7 separate regions of the Homo sapiens genome follow, and all the other regions are linked to region 4. The links are contacts of gene promoters, found by promoter capture Hi-C in blood cells and fetal thymus (Javierre and others, 2016). All regions are on one chromosome and are shown on one strand. Each heading gives the region's core, a stretch centred on a gene start or on the middle of the fragment in contact. The rest is flanking DNA. Distances are from core to core; before and after follow the strand shown. Region 1 overlaps SPAG9 (sperm associated antigen 9). Region 2 overlaps SPAG9 (sperm associated antigen 9). Region 3 holds the start of ACSF2 (acyl-CoA synthetase family member 2). Region 4 holds the start of LUC7L3 (LUC7 like 3 pre-mRNA splicing factor). Region 5 overlaps SPAG9 (sperm associated antigen 9). Region 6 overlaps SPAG9 (sperm associated antigen 9). Region 7 overlaps SPAG9 (sperm associated antigen 9).

Evidence for each region. The method cuts DNA at HindIII sites, captures the fragments that hold promoters and counts their contacts. A CHiCAGO score of 5 or more calls a contact.
Region 1: a contact is called between a fragment that was not itself captured here and the fragment with the promoter of LUC7L3 in region 4, in 1 of 17 cell types (M2 macrophages). The highest score is 5.0, in M2 macrophages.
Region 2: a contact is called between a fragment that was not itself captured here and the fragment with the promoter of LUC7L3 in region 4, in 1 of 17 cell types (monocytes). The highest score is 6.1, in monocytes.
Region 3: a fragment that was not itself captured here is called in contact with the fragment with the promoter of LUC7L3 in region 4 in 1 of 17 cell types (endothelial precursors); the score reaches 5.6 in endothelial precursors.
Region 5: a fragment that was not itself captured here is called in contact with the fragment with the promoter of LUC7L3 in region 4 in 1 of 17 cell types (naive CD8 T cells); the score reaches 6.1 in naive CD8 T cells.
Region 6: a fragment that was not itself captured here is called in contact with the fragment with the promoter of LUC7L3 in region 4 in 3 of 17 cell types (total CD4 T cells, M2 macrophages and M1 macrophages); the score reaches 6.6 in total CD4 T cells.
Region 7: a fragment that was not itself captured here is called in contact with the fragment with the promoter of LUC7L3 in region 4 in 1 of 17 cell types (total CD4 T cells); the score reaches 6.0 in total CD4 T cells.

Annotation. Positions count from the first base shown.
Region 1 is chr17:51,055,666-51,059,970 of GRCh38, forward strand. It overlaps SPAG9 (sperm associated antigen 9), which reads right to left. Exons shown (of 30, transcript NM_001130528.3): 3 at 747-817. Among named protein-coding and RNA genes, the nearest start is that of SPAG9, 63 kb to the right of the region's middle. The HindIII fragment of the contact is 1,388 bases long and covers 2,354-3,741 here.
Region 2 is chr17:51,086,201-51,089,984 of GRCh38, forward strand. All of the region lies in intron 1 of SPAG9 (sperm associated antigen 9), which reads right to left. Among named protein-coding and RNA genes, the nearest start is that of SPAG9, 33 kb to the right of the region's middle. The HindIII fragment of the contact is 6,447 bases long and covers 1-3,784 here.
Region 3 is chr17:50,425,965-50,429,850 of GRCh38, forward strand. ACSF2 (acyl-CoA synthetase family member 2) reads left to right here and starts at 254. Exons shown (of 16, transcript NM_025149.6): 1 at 254-425. The coding sequence starts at 298. RefSeq lists an enhancer at 1-330 and a silencer at 67-386. The HindIII fragment of the contact is 1,407 bases long and covers 1,891-3,297 here.
Region 4 is chr17:50,718,204-50,722,149 of GRCh38, forward strand. It overlaps LUC7L3 (LUC7 like 3 pre-mRNA splicing factor), which reads left to right and starts at 1,400. Exons shown (of 10, transcript NM_016424.5): 1 at 1,400-1,628. The coding sequence starts at 1,530. RefSeq lists silencers at 1,107-1,336, 1,677-1,736 and an enhancer at 1,367-1,506. The HindIII fragment of the contact is 10,215 bases long and covers 1-3,946 here.
Region 5 is chr17:51,030,838-51,034,842 of GRCh38, forward strand. SPAG9 (sperm associated antigen 9) reads right to left here. Exons shown (of 30, transcript NM_001130528.3): 6 at 844-885. Among named protein-coding and RNA genes, the nearest start is that of SPAG9, 88 kb to the right of the region's middle. The HindIII fragment of the contact is 2,062 bases long and covers 1,024-3,085 here.
Region 6 is chr17:50,988,329-50,992,442 of GRCh38, forward strand. SPAG9 (sperm associated antigen 9) reads right to left here. Exons shown (of 30, transcript NM_001130528.3): 20 at 2,122-2,340; 21 at 1,349-1,544. Among named protein-coding and RNA genes, the nearest start is that of TOB1-AS1, 120 kb to the left of the region's middle. The HindIII fragment of the contact is 2,993 bases long and covers 4-2,996 here.
Region 7 is chr17:51,005,508-51,009,412 of GRCh38, forward strand. SPAG9 (sperm associated antigen 9) reads right to left here. Exons shown (of 30, transcript NM_001130528.3): 10 at 1,762-1,819; 11 at 578-730. Among named protein-coding and RNA genes, the nearest start is that of SPAG9, 110 kb to the right of the region's middle. The HindIII fragment of the contact is 5,368 bases long and covers 1-3,905 here.

The sequences.
Region 1 (4,305 bases), core at 1,798-4,297, 340 kb after region 4:
GAAAGAGAGAGGAATTATTTTTTTCATGTAACAAATATTGTATAAAACTATAAAAATTATATTTATCTGGGTATGTGAAACCCAGACTGACCATGACATACAAAAATAATTTTCACATTAAGATAACAGAAACAAAAGCAACATGAAAGGCTGACAGGGAATCATAAAAAGGTTAAAAAACCCTCAAGTACATTTTCTAATTTCCTTTGAGGAGACTGTGCTGAAACTGTTAATTTAAAATACTGAAAACTCATGCAAAAAACCTACTTTTGAGTTATTTTAACACATTATAATTTGTGCTTATATTATTTGTTATGAGCTTAATGCAAATAAGTCCTTTACAATGGATAATAGATGTAGAGACCCTTTACCAATAACTTACCAATCCATAATTTCCAAACTCATAAAAAAACAAATCAGTTCTCTCATCTAAGCATCACAGAAACTTCATTATGTGCACATAGGTTTTTGCTTAGCCAGCCAAGGAGAGAAGTACTATAGCTGCCTTAAATAACTAAATTATTCTGTAGCATACTAATTCACCCCATGAAAAGCTAATTCCAAGAAAAGTTGACATTTGGTAACTAGGTAAATGCCACATGAAATTTAATGTTTTCTTGAAAGAATCCCCAAGAATTATTCTTTTTTAAAAAATTCTGATTTTCAAAGAAAAATTAAGACATATTTTCTAAGGTTCATTTCTTTGTCTCAATAATAGCATGGTAATGAAAAACCTAGAAACCCACCTCAGTGTGTCTTTGATGTAATGCATTATATTCCTTCTTCAGTTCTGCTTCTCTTTCTTCAAGTCTGCTAACTGAAATTAAGATACATACACTTGATCAAAACAAAATAAGAAATTTACTTGAAAAAGTACATGTTAGACTCAGAATGGGCTATCCATAATCCTTAGCAACTTTCAGACTCAGTGTTCCATATGCAAGTCTTCACAAAGCAGTGACCTCATTTCATTATCCTTAATAATGAAAACTTTCAGACGAGCGGAATACCTTAGATTGGTTCTCTAATATTCCTATATTTATCAGGTCATCCCCCTAAACAGTTTTTTTTTTAACATGATACAGAATTAACTCTTTCAAAAACACAAATCACCTCATCAAAGTTTTAAACTGGGATTAGGGCCCAAATAATGTATTTCCAACACTACTCAAGCTCTTTAGCACTGGCAGTTTGTGAAAGTTGATTGTTTATAAGTACTTTTTCTGCTTCAGGTCTCCTCAATTTCAGGGACTCATCTTCTTTTATTTAGCTCCCTCTGCTGATGGGTTTTGTGAGTGGCACTGACTTGAGGTAGTGCTCACAGAGTACAACTTCAGGATATTTAAAAAAAAAAAGTTTTATTAATAGATCCTGAGATACAGAATGTCAGGACAGGATTCCACAGGAAAGAATAACTGATAGCAAAGAGGAATGATTCAGGGAGGAGGTGGTGTCCACACAGAACCACAAAGGAAGAAATTACAGTACTCAAGACAGATGGTAATGAGAGCATTCCTGACACTGTTACCACAGAGAAGGGAACACAAAACCATGCCTGTGGTGAGGCAGAGGGTGGTGGTGAGGCAGAGGGGAGACTGGCCAGACTGGAGGAGCCCATACTTGGCTAAGGAGCAGTGGGAGACAGTCTGGGGAGAAATAAAGCTGGTGCTAGAGGAGTTTATCAGGGTACTCATTTAGTCTGTTGGAAAGCCTTAGCATAGTTGAAAATGTTCCCTGGGTTTAAGGGTCAGCTGGCCGCAAACAGGCAAGGCTGTGTGTAATCTACAACTGGTGACTGTGGAGGACAGCTGTAGAAGGAACTAGTATGAACTAATATTCTGACAGCAGATAAATGAATGTTTTATATGCCTCCTAGTATTAACACACCAGACACCAAACAAAACATACCTTGTGCTGCCCAGAAAATTCATTTTGGGTTTGTGTACCTTTACTTGCCATAATTTGTTTAAATATCTTGAAAATATGTGATTAGGAAAACTGTAGCTGTCTTTGTTTTGATTTGTTTCTAATTCAAGCTTATGTGTCGCTGGCTCATTACATTTGCACCAGAGAGCAAACACACACTACAGTACCCACGGAGCACATTTTATCATGCCACACAAGTGTTGAATACATCTGCTGCTCATCTTATCCTGTGGCTGAAAGCGATAATAAGCAAATTTATTATGCAGATGTGTTGTGATAAAATAATAGATGCTAAAACCACAAATTAATTTTTAATAAAATTTAATTCTATGATTTTTATTTAAAAACAGGAAATCCAAGCAAATTATGGATATTTAATAATTTCAAAATAAACATTTTCTACTACTTGTCATTTAAACTGATTAAAAGCTTAAAGGAATTCTGAGACTACTGGACAAACCATATCTATTTTCAATTGTTCATCTTTTTGAATCATTATTTTCTTGATAATGTGCAACAAAAACAAAAATTGGATGCTGAGGCTGAAATAAAATCCAACTATCATTCATAATCCTCAATTTCAAATTTGTGCTCAATAGTAGAGCCTTATTATTCTTGTCAGCTGATATAAATTCATAAATAAATTTGTATCACCAACACCACCACTACTAATAGCAGCCAACAACATCAAGTGCTTACTATGTACCATACAGTCCTAAGAACTGCATATAAACTAACTTATTTGAGCCTAACATTAACCTTACGATGAAAGTATTATTATTACATCCATGGTAGAGATGAGGAAACTGAAGCAAATAGGAGCTAAGTAACTTGCCCAAAGTCACACAGATAGAAAATGGCAAAGCAAGGATTCCTATCAGAATCTGGCTCCAGAATCTGTGTTCTTAATTACCATGCTATACTGCTTCTCAGCAAATACTCATTTTAATCTGTTTTGTATATTGGAGTTTACTTTAAGATATCACTTTGGGCAGAGGGGAGTATGCTTCAAACAAAAAACTCCTCTGTTCTTACAGAAACAACCCATTCACAGATACTTTGATACAAAGGGCATCAAACTGCCAAGCAAAATGTGTACCCAAGTCAGGGAGATGCACATTAAAACCAAAATGCAACACCACCATGCTTCTGAATGGCTACAGTGAAAAACACAACACACCAAGTGCCAGTATGGATGTGGAACTACTGGAACTTTCATAAACTGTGGTGTATGGTTTCATACACCGTAACTTGGTATGCCCAATTTAAGAACTGTTTGGCAAGATTTAGTTAAGTTTCGAATGTTTGCCAACCCTATCACAAAACAATGTCATTGCTAGAAAGCCTATATATATGTCCACCCAAAGGTATTTAAAACAATGTTCAAAGAAGCACAATCTGAAAACAATCCAACTGTCCATCAAGAGTAGAATGGATAAATATTCATGTACTGGAATACTGTACAACGTGAATAAACAAATTATTGCCACACACAACATCATGGACCAATAGCACAAATATGATATTGAAGGAAAGAAGCAGAAACAAAAGAATACAAAATTCAAAGACATAACACAAAACTAATCTGAAATGTTACAAGTCAGGATAGTAGTTACCTCTGGGGAGGAGTCAGTGATCTGATGTATTTATGCCTGTATAGCCCCAGCCCACCTCAGTTCAAACACGATGTGCATCCATTCACACAGGCACTTTCCTCTGCTTGAATACTCATTCTTCCTTATGTTATCCTACAATGGCTATGAGTTCAACATGTAGAATGGGATTTAAACAAACTATTCAGAACCATAACAAACAAGCTTTATTGCTCTGACTGTAGCATTCTCAGGGAGAGAACAAAAATGTTACCGAATAGACTGGATAAAGAAAATTTGGTGGGTCACGCCTGTAATCCCAGCACTTTGAGAGCCGAGGTGGGCGGATCACAAGGTCAGAAGTTCGAGAACAGCCTGGCCAACATGGTGAAACCCCATCTCTACTAAAAATACAAAAACTAGCTGGGCGTGGTGGTGCATGCCTATAATTCCAGCTACTTGGGAGGCTGAGGCAGGAGAATCGCTTGAACCCAGGAGGCAGAGGTTGCAGTGAGGCAGAGGTTGCAGTGAGACAAGATTGCGCCACTGCAACTCCAGCCTGGCGACAGAGTGTGACTCCATCTCAAAAAACAAACAAACAAACAAACAAACAAACCAAAAACCAGAATCTCACCACTTTTACCACCTTCATCACTCTCACTTTGACCCAAGACATCATCTCTTGCTTAGGTTATTACAATAATAATCCTAGTCTCCTGACTAGTTTCTCTACTTAGTCTTTGTTCCCTACATTCTCAAAATAGAGATGGAATCAAACAGTGACTAA
Region 2 (3,784 bases), core at 1,197-3,696, 370 kb after region 4:
AACTCCTGACCTCAGGTGATCTGCCTGCGTCGGCCTCCCAAAGCGCTGGGATTACAGGTGTGAGCCACCACACCCGGCTGAAAATCCCAATTTTAAATGTGTATTAAGTCTTGGTTTGGAAACGTACAGCTGCCATCCTCATTTAAAATGCTAATCACAGCCATGTGCAGTGGCTCATTCCTGTAATCCTAGCACTTTGGGAGGCCGAGGTGGGCAGACTGCCAGAGCTTAGGAATCTGAGACCAGCCTGAGCAACATGGTGAGACCCCATCTCTACTGAAAACACGATAAAAAAAAAAAAAATTAGCCAGGCATGGTGGCATGCACCTGTAGTCATAGCTACTCGGGAGGCTGAGGCACAAGAATCGCTTGAACCCAGGAGGTGGAGGCTGTAATGAGCCGACATCCCACCACTTCACTCCTGCCTGGGCAATGGAGCAAGACTCTGTCTCCAAAAATTACAGGCTCATGCCTATAATCCCAGCACTTTGGGAGGCCAAGGTGGGTGGTCAGGAGTTCAAGACCAGCCTAGCCAAGATGGTGAAACTCAGTCTCTACTAAAAACACAAAAGTTAGCTGGGCGTGGTGGCAGGTGTGTGTAATCCCAGCTACTTGGGAGGCTGAGGTAGGAAAATTGCTTGAACCCAGGCGGCAGAAGTTGTAGTGAGCTGAGATGGTGCCACTGCACTCCAGCCTGGGTGACAGAGTGAGACTCCGTCTCAAAAAATAAATAAAATAATAAAATAAAAAATAAAATGCTAATCACTAATATGCAACAAAAATAAAAGTTCCTCAGTTCTGATAAGACATCCCTAATAGCTTACACAGGGCACTGAAAGCTGAGTAGGATAAATGTAATACTAACTTTCAAAGAATAATCAAGAATCAAGAAAAAGTAACAAGTGACTGGAAGTTTCTAAATTGCTATCCAAGAAAAATATCCATCAAATAGTCTAGTTTTGGGCCACTGTTTTGAGAAATATCCCTGACAATATAGGTAACCTCATAAACAGAAGTTGCTGTAGGGTAGAATAGCTCAGAAAGCAGAACACTCATAATTACAAAAATACTTCAGAAATGGCATAGCTCTATATAGCAATTAGCAATCATGTGAAAGTGGGAAACATTGATATAAGAATTTATGAATGAGAAAACAGGAATAGAAACAGAGACGGTGTCATGAAATTCAAACAGATGCCAAAATACAGCTCTTGGCAGAAAAAGGTTTGGATTCGTGGTCCTAGTAAGAGTCCTCTTTTTTCCTGGATGAAGGCTGGAGGTATAGCATAAGGGAAGTAATGAGAATAGTTTCTTTGTCTCTATACCTAACCTTTTCATACTATCAACAAAATACTTGGGCAATGAGTGGCATGGGTTACACTAAAAAGAAAGTTCTCAGGGCTTTCTGCTTCCCTTCTACATTCAGAGATCTTAGTTGGGCTGGTAGCACATGAGTTCTGCTGAACCTCATTACTAGGTTTGTATAGTACAAGCATGGCTGACCTTCTTTATTGTTTAATTTAATTTTTAATTTTCATTTACTTATTTTTTAGAGATGAGGTGTTGTTCTGTCATCCAGGCTGGAAGTGAAGTGGTACAATCATGGCTCACTGCAGCCTCGACTTCCTGGGCTCAAGCGATCCTCCCACCTCAGCCTTCTGAGTAGCTGGGACTACAGGCATGTGCCACTATACCCAGCTAAATTTTTTTTATTTCTTATTTTTAGTAGAGACAAGGTCTCACCATGTTGCCCAGCCTGGTCTCGAATTCCTGAGCTCAAGCGATCCTCCTGCCTCAGCCTCCCAAAGTGCTGGGATTATAGGCATGAGCGACCATGCCTGGCCCTGACCCTCTTTTTAAAGTCTTCTTGATTTACTTCAAAGAAACATGTCTGCCTTCTACTTCTATAATTTCCACTTAACACACTAACTGAGATAACAAAAATAGGAAACATCCCAGTCCGTCACTCTGTAGTCAAAGAAAAACTTGTCATAGTTAAGAGACTAGGAAAAAGCTGTTGTAATAGTTAAGCCACACACCTATTCACAATGCCTATTCTCCAAATGCTAGGCAGTTAGGCAGCATGATGATATTTACTACAAACTAGGTAATGTCATTCATAGGACTTATTCTTAGATAAAATAACATGTTAAATATAAAACTAAAACTCTTTGCCCACCCATCCAATAGGAGTACTCACTGTATGAGAGCCATCAAAGACGTATCATAAACATTTACAGTGTAACACGCTAAGTGCTATAATGAAAGCAGAGAGGAAGAAGTGACTAAATCTGCTTTAAAAAAGGGAAGTCAAGGCTGGACACAGTGGCTCACACCTGTAATCTCAGTACTTTGGGAGGCCAAGGTGGGCAGATCACGAGATCAGGAGATCGAGACCAACCTGGCTAACACGGTGAAACCTCGTCTCTACTAAAAATACAAAAAAAATTAGGCGGACTTGGTGGCGGGCGCCTGTAGTCCCAGCTACTCAGGAGGCTGAGGTAGGAGAATGGCATGAACTTGGTCGGCAGAGCTTGCAGTGAGCCGAGATCGTGCCACTGCACTCCAGCCTGGGCAACACAGTGAGACTCCGTCTCAAAAAAAAAAATGGGAGGTGGGCACAGTTGCTCACGCCTGTAATCCCAGCACTTTGGGAGGCCGAGGCAGGTGGGTCATGTGGTCAAGAGATGGAGACCACTCTGGCCAACATGGTGCAACCCCGCATCTACTAAAAATACTAAAATTAGCCAGGCGAGGTGGCACCCGCCTGTAGTCCCAGCTACTCGGAAGGCTGAGGCAGGAGAATCACTTGAACCTGGTAGGCAGGGGTTGCGGTGAGCGAGATTGCGCCACTGCACTCCAGCTTGAGCAACAGAGGGAGATTCTGTCTCAAAAACAAAACAAAACAAAACACACACACACAAAAAAAAAACAGAAGTTGGGCCAGGCACGGTGGCTCATGCCTGTAATCCTAGCACTTTGGGAGGCCGAGGCAGGTGGACCACCTGAGGTCAGGAGTTCGAGACCAGCCTAGCCAACATGGTAAAGCCCTGTCTCTACTAAAAATACAAAAATTAGCTGAGCCTGGTGGTGGGCACCTGTAATCCCAGCTACTTGGAAGGCTGAGGCAGGAGAATCACTTGAACCCAAGAGGTAGAGGTTGCACTGAGGTGAGACTGTGCCATTGCACTCCAGCCTGGGCAACAAGAGTGAAACTCTGTCTCAAAAAAACAAAAAAACAAACAAACAAAAAAGAAGTCGACAGGTGCACCGAAATCTCGGAAATCACCACTAAAGAACTTATCCATGTAACCAAAAACTACCTGTTCCCCAAAAAATATTGAAATAAAATTATATATATATAATTATAATATATATGTGTATATCTACTTATTATATGTATATATATACACTTTATTTTATATATATATATATATATATATATATATATATATATATATATACACATACACACACACACTTTCTTTTTTTTGATATGGAGTCTCGCTCTGTGACCCAGGCTGGAGTGCAGTGGCATGATCTTGGCTCCCTGCAACCTCTGCCTACCAGATTCAAGCAATTCTCCCTGCCTCAGCCTCACGAGTGGCTGGGATTACAGGCACCCACCACCATGCCCAGCTAATTTTTTGTATTTTTAGTAGAGACAAGGTTTCACCATGTTGGCCAGGCTGGTCTCGAACTCCTGACCTCAGGTGATCCACCTGCCTTAGCCTCCCAAAGTGCTGGATTACAGGCGTGAGCCACCGTGCCCGGCCATATATAC
Region 3 (3,886 bases), core at 1,344-3,843, 290 kb before region 4:
CCCTGAGGATGGTCGCGAGGAAGATCTGTTTCGGACTGCAGCTGGGGCCTTCGGATCCAGAGGAAACCAGGGCTATTCTTCGAGGGTGGGAGGGGGAGGGCCGCGGGGTCGGAGGGGAAGGTGGCCCCGCGCGAAGTCGCCGCCGCCGCGCCCCGCCCCGCCCCGCCGGCGGAGACCGAATCCGCCGCACCCCATAGGCAGAGGCCACCCTCCCCGCCTCCCCGCCCGCTGCGCGCCCGCCCCGCCCCGGCTCACTTTAAAAGTTTACTCGGGCCGGGACGCAGGGCAAAGCGAGCCATGGCTGTCTACGTCGGGATGCTGCGCCTGGGGAGGCTGTGCGCCGGGAGCTCGGGGGTGCTGGGGGCCCGGGCCGCCCTCTCTCGGAGTTGGCAGGAAGCCAGGTTGCAGGGTGTCCGCTTCCTCAGGTACTGGCCCCCCGCGGGAAGAGAGGGGGCGGGGCAGTTCCCCGGGAGAGGAACTTGGAGGTCCCGGCGAGCTTCGGAAGCCCCACCTCTGGACGAGTGCACTGGGGGGAAGGTACCCGCCCCTCCCCCGCCCCCCGCCAGCACCTAGGCAATAGGAAAAGCTGGCTTGGCCTGGTGGACTTGGGTGGGGAGGGGGCTTTGGTTGGTGGCTGCAGTGACTTCGAGTTCTGGTCCAAGACTCTCGATTCCTTCTCCTTTATGGGCACAGAGGGCAAGGAGTGTGGGCTTTAAGGAGAATATTCCGATGGGGAGGGGCAAGGGCCAAGGCCTGGGCTGTACCCCCAGGACACTGCCTCTGAGTTGGAACCCCTTCATGGGCAAACTTGGGGATCAGCCCCAGTCTCCCCGACCCAGGCCACTAAACTTAGCAGTCTCCTGTCTCCTCATCAGCTGCTCACTAACATGGCTTTAATTCTTTGCTGCCTACTCCTGGGCCTATTTCCTTCTGTCCTCAGTGCAAGGGGTGGGATGGAAGCTGGCAGGCAGAGGATTTCAGTTCCCAGTAGCTTCACTGCCTCTGCAGCAGCACAGTAAGTAAAGCTGCCTTCCCGGTGTGACCAGTCCTTGGGAGGACCCCGTGAGATGGCAAATGTGAAAGTGCTTGAGACACAGAGAGCAGGCTGCCACTCATGTTATCAGGGCTGTTAGCTTCAGCAGCACCACTGGGGAGCCCTGTGCACTACTGAGCCTGTCCTACCACTCAACTCGGCCAGATACTAAGTCTATGGTCAGGACAGCACTTTCAGCAACATCAGATGGGGTGTGGGCCTGGACATGGAAAAGGGAGAAGTCAGAACAAAGCTGTGTCTCAGAGAACTAGATTTGTTTTTGTTTTTAAAAAGGCTAAGTAGGAAGAGTTGGAGGGACATGCAGACTCCTTTTTGGCTAGAACTCCAAGATCACACTTTCTGAACTTGCTGATTTCTGAATGCTAGAAAGCATGCAATGCCTTAACATCACTCTGCCTAATTTGCTGAGAAAACTAAGTGGATCAAGGCTGGTCAGTAGATGGGATTGAGATGAGGACAGTGGGGTCCTCTTCCCAGTGACCCTGGGAAGTCACTCACTACTTCCCAGGGTCTCCCTAGACAAGTTCGGCCCTCCCCTGACCCCCTAGTCTCTTAAGCCTCTCCTCTGGACTCATGGCTGCCCCCTCAGGCTGGGAGGACTCTGAGGAAAGTTACTTCCCAAAGTGTACATATTTTATCACACTAAATCAGGCCACAGGGGAAGTCTCTCAGCCTACTCTGGCTCAGGAGGCTGCCCAATAGAAAACAAACAAACAAACCAATAAATAAGTAATAAATCAGGCCACATGGCAACATTTCTGACCTTTGACTTTTTTTTATCTATAAACAAAACAGGTCACTTACCTGCTACAGCCCTGGGACCTCTGAGAGCACCAAGCTTCAGAGAAATTCTTATTGCTGTGTCAGGAGGAGACTCATTTATCCAGACAGATGATTTTCTGAGTGTTTGGCCTACTTTCTTTCTGCCCCTTCCACTCCCTTGTGCCTGCACCCTTATTGTCTGACTGTGATGGTTTTACCTGATTTCTCTCCTACTTTCCCCTTCAGAAGCCTCAGGGCTCAGGCCAGGCAAGGTGGTTTATGCCTGTAATCTCAGCACTTTGGAAAGCAGAGGTGGTAGGATCACTTGAGCCCAGGAGTTCAAGGCTGCATTGAGCCGTCATCATGCCACTGCACTCTAGCCTGAGCAGCAGAGCAAAACCTAGACTCAAAAAATAAAAATAAAGGCTGGGTGGGTGGCTCATGCCTGTAATCCCAGCACTTTGGGAAGCCCAGGCAGGCAGATCACTTGAAGTCAGGAGACCGGTTTGGCCAACATGGTGAAACCCCGTTTCTACTAAAAATACAAAAATCAGCCGGGCGTGGTGGCATGTGCCTGTAATACCAGCTACTAGGGTGTCTGAGGCAGGAGAATTGCTCCAACCTGGGAGGCGGTGGTTGTAGTGAGCCAAGACTGCACCTCTGCACTCCAGCCTGGGTGACAGAGGGAGACTCCATGTCAAAAATAAATAAATAAAAATAAAGGCCAAGCATGGTGGCTTATGCCTGTAATCCCAGCACTTTGGGAGGCTGAGGTGGGCGGATCACTTGAGGTCAGGAGTTAGATCAGACTGGCCAACATGGAGAAACCCCATCTCTACTAAAAATATAAAATTAGCCTGGCGTGGTGGCACATGCCTGTAATCCCAGCTACTTGGGAGGCTGAGGCAGGAGAATTACTTGAACCTGGGAAGCGGAGGTTGCACTGAGCTGAGATTGCACCACTGCACTCCAGTCTGGGTGACAGAGAAAGACTTCATCTCAAAAAAATAAAAATAAAAATGAAAAAAGAAGCCTCAGGGCTGAAACCATCAGCAAACATTCCTGAGAACAGATTCTGCGTCATGCTAGCACATGCTGTGCATATAGAGGCCACAGAACTCAGTCCTCACCCTGCCAGGAACTTGCAGCCTCGTAGGAGGAGAAATAAATCAAGGTGAGCACTATTCGGTGTTGCAAGTGCCATGGTGAGGAATGCGCTTGGACTTTCGTCCTCTGTTTTCTCCGATCTGCTCACACACAGCCTGCTTTCCTGTTGCCCAACACCCAGGCCTATTACTTACCAGACCCTGGTTTTGCCTGAGAGAAAAGAGCAAGGGCTTTGAAGTTAGACTATCCTGGATGACAGCCCTGGGTCCTCTCCCTGTTGGTTGTATGACCTCGGGCATGTTATCTAACCTCTGAGCTAGTTAGTTCATTACTTACTACCTTCTTGCTGTGTTGTTGGGCTGATGAATAAAACAAGCTTGCTCTTGTTCTCAGCCTTTCCTTTGAGGCAGGGCTGATCCCTGGAAACCCTTGACTGGTGTCTGGGTGGGAATTCTGACTGATTTGAAAGTAGGAGAGGATCCCCTGATTGGTGGCCTCTTTCTGGAACCCAATTATTTCTCCTAGCTGATTGCCAAGATGGTGACTTCCACCCAGCTACATGTCCAGTCCTTGGGTCTGCTGGACGTCCTCCTCTCCGTTTGACGCAGGGCTGTTCAGAGTCTTTCTCTTTTTCTTTTTTTTTTATTTGAGGTGGAATTTCGCTCTTGTTGCCCCAGGCTGGAGTGCAATGGCATGATCTCAGGTCACTGTAACCTCCGCCTCCTGGGTTCAAGCAGTTCTCCTGCCTCAGCCTCCCAAGTAGCTGGGATTACCGGTGTGCGCCACCCGCCCAGCTAATTTTGTATTTTTAGTGGAGATGGGGTTTCACCATGTTGGTCAGACTAGTCTCAAACTCCTGAACTCAAGTAATCCACCTGCCTCAGCCTCCTAAAGTGCTGGGATTACAGGCGTGAGCCACCACGCCCGGCCCAGAGTCTTTCTCCCCAGAAGGAAAGAAAAAGC
Region 4 (3,946 bases), core at 150-2,649:
GGTTGAGGCGAGGGGGTCGCCTGAGCCCGGGAGGTTGAAGCTGCAGTGAGCTGAGATCGTGCCATTGCACTCCAGCCTGGGTGACAGGGCCAGACCCAGTCCCCCCAAAAATAAAAGTGTTGGGCTTGTTATCAATGTGTAGTGCCTTACATTGTATAAACTCATTTAATCTTCACAATAGCATCGTGGCTGGGGGCCGGGGGAGGACTATTGTAAACCCCATTTTACAGAAAAGGAAACAAAGGCACAGAGCGGCAGAGCTGGGATTACGAACCCAGGCAATCTGGCTTTAGAGACCATACCCTTAACTGTGCTAAAGCATTATCCCAACATACGTTGATATATTTGTGACTTTATTTCTTCAGCGATTATCTCCCCTCGCCAATGCACAGGTCTGCGGGAGCATGGACTGTCTGAAAGGTTCTGAGTTTAGCTTTAAGCACAGTGCCTGGCACATACCATTTGTTGAATAAATGGATCTACCTATCTATATATATGTGTGTGTGTGTGTGTGTATGTGTGTGTGTGTGTGTGTGTGTATATATATATATATATATATATATATTTTTTTTTTTTTTTTTTTTTTTTTTGAGATGGAGTTTTGCTCTTGTTGTCCAGACTGGAGTGCAATGGCGCGATCTCGGCTCACCGCGACCTCCGCCTCCCGGGTTCAAGCGATTCTCCAGCCTCAGCCCCCTGAGTAGTTGGGATTACAGGCATGCGCCACCACGCCAACCTAATTTTGTATTTTTAGTGGAGACGGGGTTTCTCCATGTTGGTCAGGCTGATCTCGAACTCCCGACCTCAGGTGATCCGCCCGCTTCGGCCTCCCAAAGTGCTGTGATTACAGGCGTGAGCCACCTCACCTGGCCTACTGGATCAATATCTTTTTAAAAAATTCCACACTGGGAGACATTTGGTGTAGGACTGAATCCCCGTATTTTAGAAGCCGCCTTGTCTCTTCTTGCCTCGATTTCCCATCCTGTTAATCAGGAGACTCAGGGCGGGAGGACAAAGCCAGGTGCAAGAGGCGTGAGCACAGCGACTAGGAAAATGGAGTCGGAAGCCGTAATCTTCAGTTTCCTCCGCTGCATGAGGCACCATGTGCACCACGTGGACTAAAGGAGACACTTTCTCCATTTTGAAGCGGTGTCCAGGCTTCAAGACCTAGGCTCCAATTTCTCACCGTGAAGAAGCTCGGGAAAACCGGGCGCTTGGGGAGGCGCGCGGGCAGAGGCTACCCGTCCCCGCGGCCTCTAGACAGGGGCGGAGTCCCTACCCGGCCTCCGCGGGCCCCGCCCCCGGACGGCGGAAGCCGAGCTCGCCCTCTCCGCCCGGGCCTGGGCGTGTCCCACGGGCGCACGGCATGCTGGGAAGGCGTCCGCGCGGCGGCCATTTTGTCTTGTCGGCTCCTGTGTGTAGGAGGGATTTCGGCCTGAGAGCGGGCCGAGGAGATTGGCGACGGTGTCGCCCGTGTTTTCGTTGGCGGGTGCCTGGGCTGGTGGGAACAGCCGCCCGAAGGAAGCACCATGATTTCGGCCGCGCAGTTGTTGGATGAGTTAATGGGCCGGGACCGAAACCTAGCCCCGGACGAGAAGCGCAGCAACGTGCGGTGGGACCACGAGAGCGTAAGTCCCGCGGGCCTTGGCCTGAGCCCGGGCTCCGTGGGGGAGGGGAGCGGGCGCGGGCTGTGGCCCTCCTGGCCGCGGCGCGATGTGGCCAGGGCCGCACCCGGGGTCGAGCGTCTGACCCGGTGCCCATGGAGCCAGGAGGGAGGATGCTGTCCGGACCCGGGGATGGGGGTGATTTGGTTTTGTTGTTCTAGTATCAAGGGGGTCCGGGAGAGCCCTTGGCATAATTGAAAAGCACCTTGATGAGGCGGGGAAACGCGGGAAAGAAGGATAGCAGCGTCTTATTAAATCTAGCGGCTCCGAGGTTTCACCTCATTATGAAATAGGGAGAAGGGCACATTTTTCTATAGTTTGGGTTGAACGTCGTATTTAGACTAAAATTTCTGACCAGGATTCATGGTAAAAATCGTGGCGGTATTTTATTTAAGTAATTACAGCATGACGCTTATACGGGGAAATAGAAATGTAAAAGAAGTCGTTTACTTGTTAGGGTTTACCGTGATGATTTACAAGTATTGTTCGTTAACAGTATTCTAAGAAGTCCCTTATAGAGGCAGCTGTCAAGGTTTTTTCTTCCACATAAAACTCATTTGATGCTCTTAGCCCGGGGAGTAAAGGTAAATATTATAACCCCAGTTTCACTGGTGAGACTTAAAAAGGCTCACCCAAAGTCTTGGCAACTGAGGAAACTAATCTTTGTAGTTCTGTTAGCTTTCCACAATCCTATGAAACTGGTTCTCTGCACCTACTGTAGCATTTCAAGTGTTTTGATCTAGTTTTGAACATGCAGTGTAATGTTTACTTTAGGTCTTATCTGGAGAATAGATACAGAATTTAATTTTACTTTGAGGTTATAATCTAACATGCTAATTTTAAAACAATTGCTAATCAAAATAGGAAGGAATAGTTCAGGTAATGCATGCTTCTTTAGAAAACTGTTTTCTTACTCTTTTTAAACGTAGGCTTTGGTTAAGGTAAAATTTCTTTTTTGCAGTGTAGGAAAGCAAGTTGGTGCTAGATGACTCCTTTTAGGACTTTAAGAAAGAGTAAGTTTGGCTCAAGTTGTGTTGGGGTGCTAACTGATTCCAAAGTAGTATGAAACATTCTTAGAGTAGAATTTATTGTTTTTAAGAGGTGGGTTTTTTGTTTTTAACATTTAGGCTCCCCATCCCCCCGACCATTTGTCACAATAGGAGACTAAGGAACTGCTTACCTTGACCATCTTTCTTTTGTAGGCATCTTTGTTATAGCGAAGTAACTTTTTTTTTTTTTAACTACCTGACTCTGTAACCTTTCAGTCTAAACTTTGCAAATGTGTTAGGAATAACGCTCAAAATCCTAAGTAAGGTAAAAAACCAAAACATTATGGCGATTTGGCTTATGTTCAATAGGTTATTTGTATATTTTGAATTCAAGAGAAAAATGCTTTCCATTGCACTCCTTATCAGTTGGAACAGCCTTGTATCTCTGCACCCTTGACTTTGAACACGTTTTAGAGAAACTGTTTTCTTTCCCGGGGTAATTTGTTGCCACATTGCATTGTATGTGATGGGTTTATGACTCTTCAATGATGAGGCCCTCAGAATAGCAATTTAGGTTTTATGTCATCTCAGCCGTAATCTGCTTTGCTTTCAGTTTTAGTACTTTTCACTAATTTTAACTTTCAGTGTTTATTACTAAAGTATTTAATGCCTTAATGACAGATTGCACTTCACTCTAGATTGAAGGATTTCAAGTCAGTTACTGGCATTTCAGATTGATATCTGCAGGGAAAATGTTGGTAGTGTTGAGCAAAAACAAAGCACATGGTCTCATCTAAATAGGTGGAATTATTGTATAATGAAGCTGGGGAAGCTGTTGATATCGTTTCCGGGTCATCTGCATATTCTTGTACTGTTGGCTGTTAGTGCTAAACCTGCAGGGATGGGCAAACCCATTATATGCTGAAAAGGAGTCACCTTTTCTATAGCCTAATATTTTAACATATTTTTGCATTCCTGTTCTATCTGGAAATTTTTCTTGGCCATACTTGCATTAAATGGAAGAAGCCATTTCAGCTGGATGGGGCCCTTGTTTTTTTTTTTGGAATAGAGATAAATACCAAAATAAGGAAAGGAAGCAACCATTAATTAAAAGACAGTTGCCGTGGCATCTGTAAGTATTTAACAGTCAAAATGCTAACTTTACCTAGTATTAAAGGTAGTCCCTAGATAGCTGTATTTGACCTGTGGAATTTGTTTTAAATGCATATTTCTGTACTTCAACCCCTTCAACTCCCCTTCCCAGAGAGTCAGATTCTGTCTGTCTTGGGGAAG
Region 5 (4,005 bases), core at 805-3,304, 310 kb after region 4:
CCTAGCACGTAGGAGAAAGTCACAGATATCCTGTTATCCCCAGTGCCCAGCATATCAAGCCTGACATGTAGCAGGCTTTTTTTTTTTTTTTTTTTGAGATGGAGTCTCGCTGTGTTGCCCAGGCTGGAAGGCAGTGGCACCATCTTAGCTCACTGCAACCTCCACCTCCCGGGTTCAAGCAATTCTCCTGCCTCAGACTCCTAAGTACCTGGGATTACAGGTGTCTGCCACCATGCCTGGCTGATTTTTGTATTTTTAGTAGAGACAAGATTTCACCATACTGGCCATGCTGGTCTTGAACTCCTACTCCTGACCAAGTGATCCGCCTGCCTGGGCAGAGTGCTGGGATTTCAGGCATGAGCCACCACACCTGGCCTGTAGTAGGCTCTTAACAGATGTTTGATGAATAAAGCTGGATGGTGCCCTGACTGGAGATGAAGAACTCTATTAAACTAAGGAAGCAGTCCACTGTAAGATGACACACTAGGCCACATTCAGGACAAATACAAGTTACATACATTATGCCCTGAAGAAGGTATTTCTGGAAAGTATACCATTACATAGAGCTGGATAAATGCAAACAGGCTGAATTTCACAGAATTTACTTATATTTTCTTTCCTTTATTTAAAAATGCTTACTTTGGGGAAGGAATAAATTACAGATTGCAGTAAAGCCCTGACAACCACTACAGTGGAAATAATTTTCTTTTATATTTCAGTGAATTACAACAATAGTCTTCCAAGCTGAGCATCTGATGTCTTGAGAATAGCAGTTGAGGAAGTAATCAATAGTTAATCACTTTAGTATACTTTTTGCAAAATGTTAAGAAGCACCATTCTCACCTCCTGTTCTACAGCCTTCTGAGGTTCAGGACTATTGCTGACCTAGGAAGAGGGAAGATTATAAAAGAGAAAAAAATTATGTGTTTACTAGGTTTTAACACAGCTGTAACTTTGGCTTGTACTATCTCCCAAGATACAAGATTCATCTATTATCTACTGTGTTTAAAATGAGGGTTTGGAAGCTTTGTTTTATTTTGACTTAAGCTGACCTTAACACTCTAGTTTAAGTAATATCATGGTTCAGAAGCCACCACTTGGATCAGTGTCTTATACTTATCAACATGCAGCTCATTGTTTAACCTTTTTTTTCTACTTACACCACTTTATGAAATCTTCCTGATGTTTATTCCAGTCCCTTTGACTATTTAACATGCTAATAATCCAGTGCAGCATACTCAGAAATGTTTATCACACCTCCTTCTATCATTTCTGAATTAGTTAGATAACACTAATGATCAAAGGATCACCAAAATCCAAATCCTTTTTCTTATTTTTTTTGAGACACGGTCTCACTCCTGTCGTCCAGGCTGGAGTGCAGTGACACGATCACGGCTTGCTGCAGCCTCAACTTCGCAGGATTCAGGTGATTCTCCCACCTCAGCCTCCCAAGTAGCTGGGACTACAAGTGTACCCCACCATGCCTGGATAAATTTTTGTATTTTTAGTAGAGATTTGGTATCGCCTTGTTGCCCAGGCTGGTCTTGAACTCCTGGGCTCAAGTGATCCATCTTCCTTGGCCTCCCAAAGTGCTGGGATTACAGGCATGAGCCATGTGCCCAGTCCCAAATCCTTTTTCATAAAAATCTATTTATTCATATTCTTTATTTCTATCTATACATTTTCCCTCTATGAGACGGATGTGTTTCTCTTAAATACAAAGCAACAGTTTCAAATACTCTTGGTCTGGAAATTCATCAAAGTCTTTTTGAAAGGCTGCTAGCTCTCAGTTATGCCCTTAAAAATACACAGATTAGGCCGGCCGCAGTGGCACACACCTGTAATCCCAGCACTTTGGGAGGCTAAGGCAGGTGGATCACCTGAGGTCGGGAGTCCAAGGCCAGCCTGACCAACATGGAGAAACTTGTCTCTACTAAAAATACAAAACTAGCTGGGCGTTGTGGCGGGCTCCTGTAATCCCAGCTGCTCTGGAGGCTGAGGCAGGAGAATCGCTTGAACCCAGGAGGAGGAGGTTGCAGTGAGCCGAGATCACGCCATTGCACTACATCCTGGGCAACAAGAGCGAAACTCCATCTCAAAAAAAAATAAAAAATACAAAATACACAGATTAACAAGGCATGATTCACTTTGTAGGAATCAGACTGCCTCTTCTTTAACAGATGTGGTTTTTTTTTTTCCCCTAGCTTTATTGAGATATAACTGACAAATACAGCATATAGTTAAGGTGATTTTTTTAATACACATTGTGAAACAATCACCACAGTCAAGCCAATAAACATATCTAGCACGTCATACTTTTTTTGGTGGTAAGAGCACTTAATGTTTATTTATAAGATCTTTGATTCTAGATTCTCATCATCTTTAATCATTCTCTTCATCAAAAACTAGGTAAAAACTTGGGTAGCTCTCTCTATATAAAAGTAGAAAGATTGTCAAGCTATGTCATTAAATGAAAAAAAAAAAAAAAAGCAAGCAGCAGGAAAACACTTATAAACCCACTTATCTTAAAAAGATATTATATCTATGTGCACCTGTAAAGAAAAAGGCCAAGGATACATCAACTATTTACAATGACTGGGGGAAAAAATGAAATTTAGGGTTGAAGAAACTTCCCATTCCTACTCCACATTCTTCAGTATTACTAAAAATTGTGAAACTGAATTAATATAATTTTTTAGACACAGGATCTTGCGATATTGCCCAGGCTGAAGTGCCGTGGCTATTCACAGGTACCATTACAGTGAACTGCAACCTGGAATTCGTGGCTTCAAGCAGTCTTCTCACCTCAGCCTCCTGAGTAGTAAAATAACTTTTTAAAAGAAATTATAAAGGCCTCTTTTAGAAAATATTTGGACCTCTGAGCACCTTAACAACATTTCTAGTACATGGCATTGTGCCTAACACAGTGAGCATCAATAAATTTTTTTGAGTGAAAAAGGTAATTTTTTCAGTAGAAAATGTTAAACAACTTCTCCTATTCTAAAAGTCTGTTTAAACAGTAAATGTAAGTATTAATAAATACCTATGTGCCAATTACCTCAGATGAAGTCACATTTAAAATACAAGCTTTAAACACCGCCATTTTGAAAGTGCTGCTTATTTACATCTTTATCAGTTTCTATTCTCAACATACATAATAGGCATCTTGGTCAACATACAACACAATAGAATCTTTACCCTTTTTTTCCTTCCAAACCCTAACAGTCACCTATAGGTGGTTCCTAAAGTTATCACATGAAGATATATGTGAGGAAAAAAGCTTATAAGCAAAAATTGAGTTTATAGAACAAATTCCTTATCCACTGTCATAAACAAAACAATATGAAATATTACAACACATAATCCATTTTTTTCTTAAAACTCTACTTTTATTTTACCCTAGTAGGCACACTAATACAAAATTCTATAAAGGAGGTATAAACTAATGGAAAAACCCAAACCAGAAGTAAATGAATGAATAATGCCTAGATCTTGGTTCCTAAATACACTTCTCCCAAAAAATGTGCCAGAGCTCCTTTGAGAAGTAGTCCAATTTTTAAGAGTGGGGCAGGGAAAATACAACAGCTTAGAGCATCTTATGGTGCCAATAAGGAAGAAAGCATTCAAAAAAGGATGGGGTATGTCAAAAGAGCACAGGAGCCAACCTGAAAGAGCTCTCAATGTCCAAAGCTAGAAAAATTTGAGAAACCAAAGAAATGATAGGTTCGCATAGCCCACAGAATAATATATGTATATATCCCTTGAATTCAAACTGGACTGGAGGGAAGGAGGGAAGAAGACAACTCTCCCTGATAGAAGAATTCCAATTAATAAATGTAGAATGAAGAAAATAGAAAATAACTATTAGCAATATTTTACTAATAATTGTTGTAGGCAAAATCCACTGTGGATGCTAAAATCAGTGAATGAAAGTTTGAGCAGAAACAGGGTATCTGCACAGTCTCAAAGTATATCCACACCAAGATACTAGATTCTGTTATATTC
Region 6 (4,114 bases), core at 250-2,749, 270 kb after region 4:
ACAAGCTTAGCATTCCAATAATGGACCACTAGGCATAAATGGGTTATTAATTAATCTTTCTTACTTTATACACTAAGAATATTAAACTTTAAAAAGGATCTAGTTTAAAGAGACTCTCATCTAGAGGGGATCTAGAAAAGGCAGGAAAGAAAATAAAATAATTCACTAAATGGGCCTAGATTAACCAACCCTTTAACGGAGGAGCCTAAAACAAACAGTTTTCTTTGGTTTGTTTGTTTTCTGAGACAGAGTCTTGTTCTGTTTCCCAGGCGGCAGTGCAGTGGTGATATCATGGCCCACTGTAGCCTCCAGCTCCCAGGGCTCAAGCAATCCTCCCACCTCAGCCTCCTGAGTAGCTGGGACCATAGGTGCACGCTACCACGCCCAGCGAATCATTAAGTTTTTTGTAGAGATGAGGGTCTCACTATGTTGCTCAGGTTGGTCTTGAACTCCTGGACTCAAGCAATCCTCCTGCTCAGACTCCCAAAGTGCTGGGATTATAGGCATGAGCCACTGGAACTATCTGAGTTGTTTTTTAATAAAATATTTGCATGAAAACTAAATTCAAAAAGGTCATCCACACCCATGTGGGAAACTTGTACAATGGCAGATTTAAACAATGGCCAATTTTGCTGATAACTGGAGTGAAAATTAGAGTAGGGGTGGGATTAAAATGACAAAGAATTACTTATAGAATGGAAGACAGTAAGTACAAAAAAAAAGAAAAAAAAACAGATCAGAGGAGAAAATGAACAGAAAGATTTTGACTAATATATAGTCACACACCTGGTAAAACCATTTTGGAAAATGATGGACAGAATATATGGTGGTGGTTCCACAAGATTATACTACTATATTTCTACAGTACCTTGTGCATGTTTACATACACAAATACTTACCGTTATGTTCCAATTATCTACAGTATTCAGTACAGTAACATGCTGTACAGGTTTCTAGCCTAGGAGCAATGGGCTATACCATATGGCCTAGGTGTGTGATAAGCCATACCATCTAGATTTGTGTAAATGCACTCTATGATGTTCACACAATGATGAAATCACCTAATGACACATTTCTCAGAACATATCCCCATTGTTGACTGATGCATGATTATACTTTTATAGATAAGATTTTTTTTTTAAATTGGAAGGTGTACAGAAGAAATGGGGGGGAATATCCAGCGAGAATGATGGAGCGGGAATACATGAAATTATCACAAGAATAGGTATCTTTTAATCCACCACAGTGACACTAATTAGTGGAAATCTTTTGACTGTTTGAGATTATTTTGGTTCCTTTTATTTGTGCACTTCACCCAGTTGCCTAAGTTGATGACCCATTATTATACCTCGACTGATACACTGGGGAGAGGTCTTCTGGGATCTGAACTCCCAAAGGATCTGTAAAGACATGCTCTGTGTAGACGCCAGTTTGGGAGATGTCCACTGTGTCTTCAGCTGACCCCGCATTCCCTTCTGTAGCTTCAGTTGCTTCTTCTGCTGTTGGAACATTTTCATCAACCTCACTATTTTCTGCTTCCATTTCTACAAAGTAAATAAAACACTATTCCAAGTCTGGGCTTTTCTCCTCCAATTATTTCCCCACACAAACCCCTGTTATAGAATTCCATTCCATCTACCCACTCCTTCACACTGTACCATGAAATTAAGAATTCTTCATTCCATTTAACAGTCATTACAGCATTTTTTTTTTTTTTGAGACAGAGTCTTGCTCTGTTGCCCAGGCTGGAGTGCGGCGGCGTGATCTTGGCTCACTGCAAGCTCCACCTCCCAGGTTCACGCCATTCTCCTGCCTCAGCCTCCCGAGTAGCTGGGACTACAGGCACCCGCCACCACGCCCGGTTAATTTTTTGTACTTTTTAGTACAGACAGGGTTTCACTGTGTTAGCCAGGATGGTCTTGATCTCCTGACCTCGTGATCCACCCGCCTTGGCCTCCCAGAGTGCTGGGATTACAGGCGTGAGCCACCACGCCCGGCCTACAGTATCTTCTTTCAAGTTCTTTCAACCTTGTTACTTAAGATCTAAATTAAGTCCATAATGAGGCATCTGAGTGTAGCCTTAGACTCTATACAGATGGCAGGTAAAGAGAATGGATATACCTGGTGGTTTATCCATCACTGGAGAAGCACCATTTGTACTAGGGGAAGTGGCAGCTCCCGTCACACCTTCTGCAGAACAACCAACCACTGTGATGCCTCCTAACAGGCTGTCTGTCTCTGCTGAGCTGTTGCTTGTCATACTTCCACATAAAGATGCTTTGTCTACCTGACCAGATTCTGAAAGATCTTCTCCTGCAGGGTAGTCTGTTTCTCGTGCACCTGAAAAATAAATCTTCTTGTAACAGCAAAGTAAACTTCTATAAATAACATTTTTTTTACTAAAACAATTACAGGTTTGAAATGAGAGTTATGCAGGTGAGATGTACAGGTAGTTGAATACAGGTAGCATTAAATTTACATAAACAAATCTTCACAATATGGGAAGGTAACTTAAAAAATTAAGAAAATACTTCTATTAACACAAGTGCAAATAAACATAAAAATGTCAGAAAATAAACTTTTTTTTTTTTTTTTTTGAGACAGAGTCTTACTCTGTCGCCCAGGCTGGAGTACAGTGGCATGATTCAGCTCACTGCAACCTCCGCCTCCTTGGCTTAAGTGATTCTCCTGCCTCAGCCTCCTGAGTAGCTGGGACTACCGGTGTGAGCCACCACGCCTGGCTAATTTTTGTATTTTTGGTAGAGACAGGGTTTCGGTATGTTGGTCAGGCTGGTCTTGAACTCCTGGCCTCAAGGGATCCACCAACCTCAGACAAGTCCTAGGATTACAGGTGCGAGCCACCACGCCTAGCCAGCTTCTGTTCTTAGTGAGCTCCTCAGCAGCCACAGGTTAAAAACAATCTATTATATCTGACAACATCAGCCAAAAAAAAATTCTTTTAAATCATCAAGACTACTGCTACTACTTGAAGTATAAGCTTCTATCCATTACTGTTAAAAATTAAATGCCCCAAGTATATAGGTTGATTAAGATATTAGTAAAACATTAAAAACTAAGCATTTATAATATAAAAATATTTACAATATAAAAATAAATCTCATTTTTTAATTTAGAAAATTGTTTTATTTATATCACACTAAAAACTTTTATTGCAGTAAAAATAATATATATATAAACAAAATTTGCCACTTTAACCATTTAAAAGTGTACAATTCAGTGGCACTAATATTTACAATATTGGCATTAATATTTATAACATTGTGTAGCCATCACCATTATTTTTTTTTTTTGGCGACAGAGTTTCACTCTTGTTGCCCAGGCTGGTGTGCAATGGTACAGTCTCGGCTCACTGCAACCTCTGCCTCCCAGGTTCAAGCAATTCTCCTGCCTCAGCCTCCCAAGTAGCTGCGATTACAAGCGCCTGCCACTGCACCTGGCTAATTTTTGTATTTTTAGTAGAAACGGGGTTTTACCATGTTGGCCAGGCTGGTCTCGAACTCCTGACCTCAGGTGATCCGCCCACCTCAGCCTCCCAAAGTGTCTGGATTACAGGTGTAAGCCACCATGCCAGGTCTTTTTTTTTTTTTTTTTTTTTTTTTTTTTAAAACACAGGGTCTTACTCCCATTGCCCAGGTGGGTGTGTAGTGGTGCAATCGTAGCTCACTGCAGTCTTGACCTCCCCGACTCAAGTTATCCTCCCGCCTCATTTTTTGATTTTTTGTGGAATGAGGTCTCACTATATTGCCCAGACTGGTCTCAAACTTCTGGGCTCAAGTGATCGTCCCACCTTGGCCTCTGAAAGTGCTGGGATTATGAGTGTGAACCTCCATGGCCGGCCTATTTCTAAAGCTTTTCCATCACCTCACACAGAAACTCTATGTTTTTATGAATGTGCCTATTCTAGATATCTCATATAAGCGGAATCATATAATATTTGTCCTTTTGTGTCCGACTTATTTCCTTTGGCATAGTGTTTCCAAGGTTCATCTGTGTTATAACATGTGTCAGAACTTCTACCTAGAGGATAATGTATTGTACTCTTAAAAATTTGTTAAGAGGGCTGGGCATCCCAATACTTCGGGAGGCCAAGGCA
Region 7 (3,905 bases), core at 1,063-3,562, 290 kb after region 4:
ATGTTTGAACAGTCTCTAACTCTTTTTGCATCATTATAGACATAAAAAATAACAATATTTAGGCCGGGTGCAGTGGCTCACGCCTGTAATCCCGGCACTTTGGGAGGCCGAGGCAGGTGGATCACCTGAGGTCAGGAGTTCAAGACCAGCTTGGCCAACATGGCGAAACCCTGTCTCTACTAACAGTACAAAAATTAGCTGTGTGTGGTGGCAGGCACCTACAATCCCAGCTACTCAGAAGGCTGAGGCAAGAGAATCGCTTGAACTCGGGAGGCAGAGGTTGCAGTGAGCCAAGGCTTTGCCACTTCACTCCAGCCTGGGCAACAGGAGTGAGACTCCGTCTCAAAAAAACAGAAAACAAAAAACAAAAGACAATAATATTTAGATGACAGGCTAACAACTGGAGGGGCCTGCTCACAGCAGAGGCAATGGGCTGGGGCACTTTGCCCTCTCCCAGGCAGCTCTTGGCCTTCCAGGCTTGAGTGGACAGAAGGTCTCAGTCTCAGGGTTACATCTGTAACCCTTTGTGGCATAACTGGCAAAGAGTTTGGTTTAGAACAACACAGTTAAAACTTACTTCCTAAGCTCTTCCTCCAATTCTCTGTTCTTTTCCTCTAGTTTCAGTTTGGCTTGCTTCACAGCCTCCAATTCCCCTTGCAGCACATCTTTCTCACAGGTCAGTTCATCCACTTTTGCTATCAAATCATTCTTCACTATGTTCAAAGCATTTCTAAGAAACACATATTTCAAGTGCATCATTACAAATAAATATTCTTTCCATCTTTCAGCTATTCCTTTGTAGACTAAACTGTACAACCATAGACAATAATAATTTAATACTTCAAGACATTCTACCCAATGTTGTTTGTAGATAAATGCAAAAAGAACACAAAGCAACAGTCTAAGATTTTACTCATTTATCAAATGAATAAAACAAGACAGATCATCAATTACTAAAAAGTGAGAAGATTAAATTTTAAAAATAGCATTCAAAAGGTTACTATTGTTAATAATTCCTCAGAATATATTACCCAATCAATAAAGTAAAATTATTTCTTGATGTTACCTTTAATAAATAATGAGAAAACAGTTTAAACTGGAAAGTTAAGACAGTCTACGCTGAAGAAAAAACCCTGATATCCAGTTCCTTTGGGTATAGTGGGCATAGGACCTTATTATAACTGCATTCTGTCTTGGATATACACAGATGTTCCAAAGTTGCTCTGACACAGCAAACTGACAAAGGAACCCAGTCAGCTTTTCCACATGACTGGGGATCTGTCCCATTAAATGTGTCTGAGGGCTTAAGACTCCACAAATTGCACCCAAGAATGCACAGCTATGGAAGACAGCTCTGAAGAGGAAGGCTGAGTATACATGAAAATATTTGTGTGGAAATAAAAGAAACCCCAGGAGAAGAGATAAGAAAACAGACAAATGTTAAGGGAGGGAGCAAAAAAAGTGTAAAACCAGGACAAATTTAGAAGATTAAGAAAAAGGCATGGATACTTATAGAGTGAAAAGGAGATGACAATCTGTGTTTCTACAAAAAAACAGGGCAAGGGAACATATCTAACAGGGCAGTGTAGGTCCCAACATTAGGGTGTGTGTGTGTGTGTGTGTGTGTGTGTGCACACTCAGAGTTGGGGAACGAGATGGGACAGGGAGATTCCATTAGTATTATGTTAAAACGATGAAGTGTCATTGACTTGGACAAGAAGAAAATTCTTTATCTTCTGTTAAAATTTCACATATACTTACTTGGTTTCCAACAGTTGTGTATTTTCTAATATAAGATTCTCAACTTCCCGACCCATTCCTATCAAACGAAAAAAGATAAAGACTTTGAAAATAAATGCATCAATAATTATATACATTTAAAATATAAGCTATAGTCACAAGTTTTATTTTAGAAATTTTATCTGTCCTTTATTAATTTTATTTTGTCTATAATTTCATTTGATGGACCTACTTTAATAGATTATAAAATTATAAATAATTATTCATTACGAACAAGGCTAAAGATTTTGTTGGCCTATTTCTTTTTTAAATCTGAATCGGCTTGCTAGGGAATGAGGCCAATTTTTAATATCTGTTAGTCTATATTTCTCATAGATAATATTTCAAAAGGATCAAGACTTTTCTGCCAAATATTCTAATATTCCAACACTACATAGGGTAAAAAAGAACAGCTTTAATATGGATCGAAATTGTTTCTAAATCACATCTGACCTCGTAGGCTTTTGCCTAAAAATTAGACCTTATTAATAGAGAACAGGCAAAAACAAGGCTAAAGAAAGATAGAACCCCAAGGCAGATGAAACCTTACCAAAGAAATTATGGTCTTAAAGCCCATGCATTCCATGTAAAGCAAAAACAAAGAACAAGAAATGTTTTACGTAAGAAACAGCATGAAAACAGATTATTAATCTATAAAGTTTTATACATGATATGAAAAACATCTGGAATCACAATGTTATGATTTAATGCATAATGATGTGCAAAAGACAGAAATAAAGATGATTTCCTTCATTCATAAGGATGCTGATATACCTAAAAAATGCTTTACCAATTCTTTCTCACAATAAGATTAACTATAATTAGATTGAAAATCTTCAATTAACAATACAAACTTTCCTTCAAAGTGCCACCTATAAAATAATAATGTTCAGTTATCACTTGAGTGAATGTCTTTGATCGTGTTTGGCATTTTAATGACTACTGTGAGATAAGCACGTAGAGCATCCAATGCAAGATCCAATGGAGTGGTCTTTAGGGAGAAGAAAGCTATTAATTTGCTTTTCCTAAGAAACTGAAGAAATGAAATAACACACTAGGGAATATCACTCAAAAAACAAAAAATCAAAGCAAAACAAAACAAAACAAAAAAAACCCACCAGTCACTCATCTTCAAGGAATTGTGAGCTAATAATGTTGGAAAATCACATACAATGGAAGAAGTAATAATCATAACCCAAGTAAACAGGAAAGAAATCTTTCTAAAGAAAACTACATACGACAAAGGAGTTAACATGTCCCTTTATTTTAAAAAAGGTAATTTTCCAAATGATTTAAAAATTACTTAAAACAAAAACAGCCAACCTAGGAATGCTACATATTCTGTGTACCTGGACTCATATTTTGTCTATATTCTAATTTTCTCAAAGATCAGGGTACTTACACCAGAAAGAATTAAATATCAGAAATAGATTAATCATCTACCTATGTATTATCTACAAACTGAAACCAAACAAAACAAAATAAAAGTCCCAAAAAAGTTTCCAAATTCTAACTCCAAAATGATCTTCGGCAAGATATTTGCTTTAAACACTAATGCTAAATTTTTATTCCTTTGTAGATACAATGGCTGGGAATGTTAACTTTTTAACAAAGTTATAGAGACAGAAGAAATAAGAATGTAGACTGGTTGAAAACAGTTTATATAGTAACTATGTTTGCTATAAACTCTCAAGCAGTTAGATAAGCGTGGAAGCTGAAAATATATGAAAGGCAAAAAAATAGTTGAGCAGAAAAAAATGATGAGAAAGCATTAGATGAGAACAGCAGCCAAGAACACCTAGCTTAAAAAGCAGTAATATTAAAATATTCAAAATCATACACACCAGAATATTCCCCTACGTAAGCAGCCCAAGAGAAAAATGAATGAGAATCTCAATTAGATTGTTTTCAGAAAGCAAGAACTAAACTCATTTACTTTAAAATGAGAGAGAGGAAACAAAGAAATTGACAAGATGTAGAGAAACCATTAACTAAACACAATGAAGTGTAAATATTTATAAAAAGGAAAAAAATTGAAATGTGTGCTACAGGAAAAACAAATCCTATAATATAGTTTCTAAAGTTTACATTAGCCATGAAGCCAGTAGACAAGACAGATAATTCTG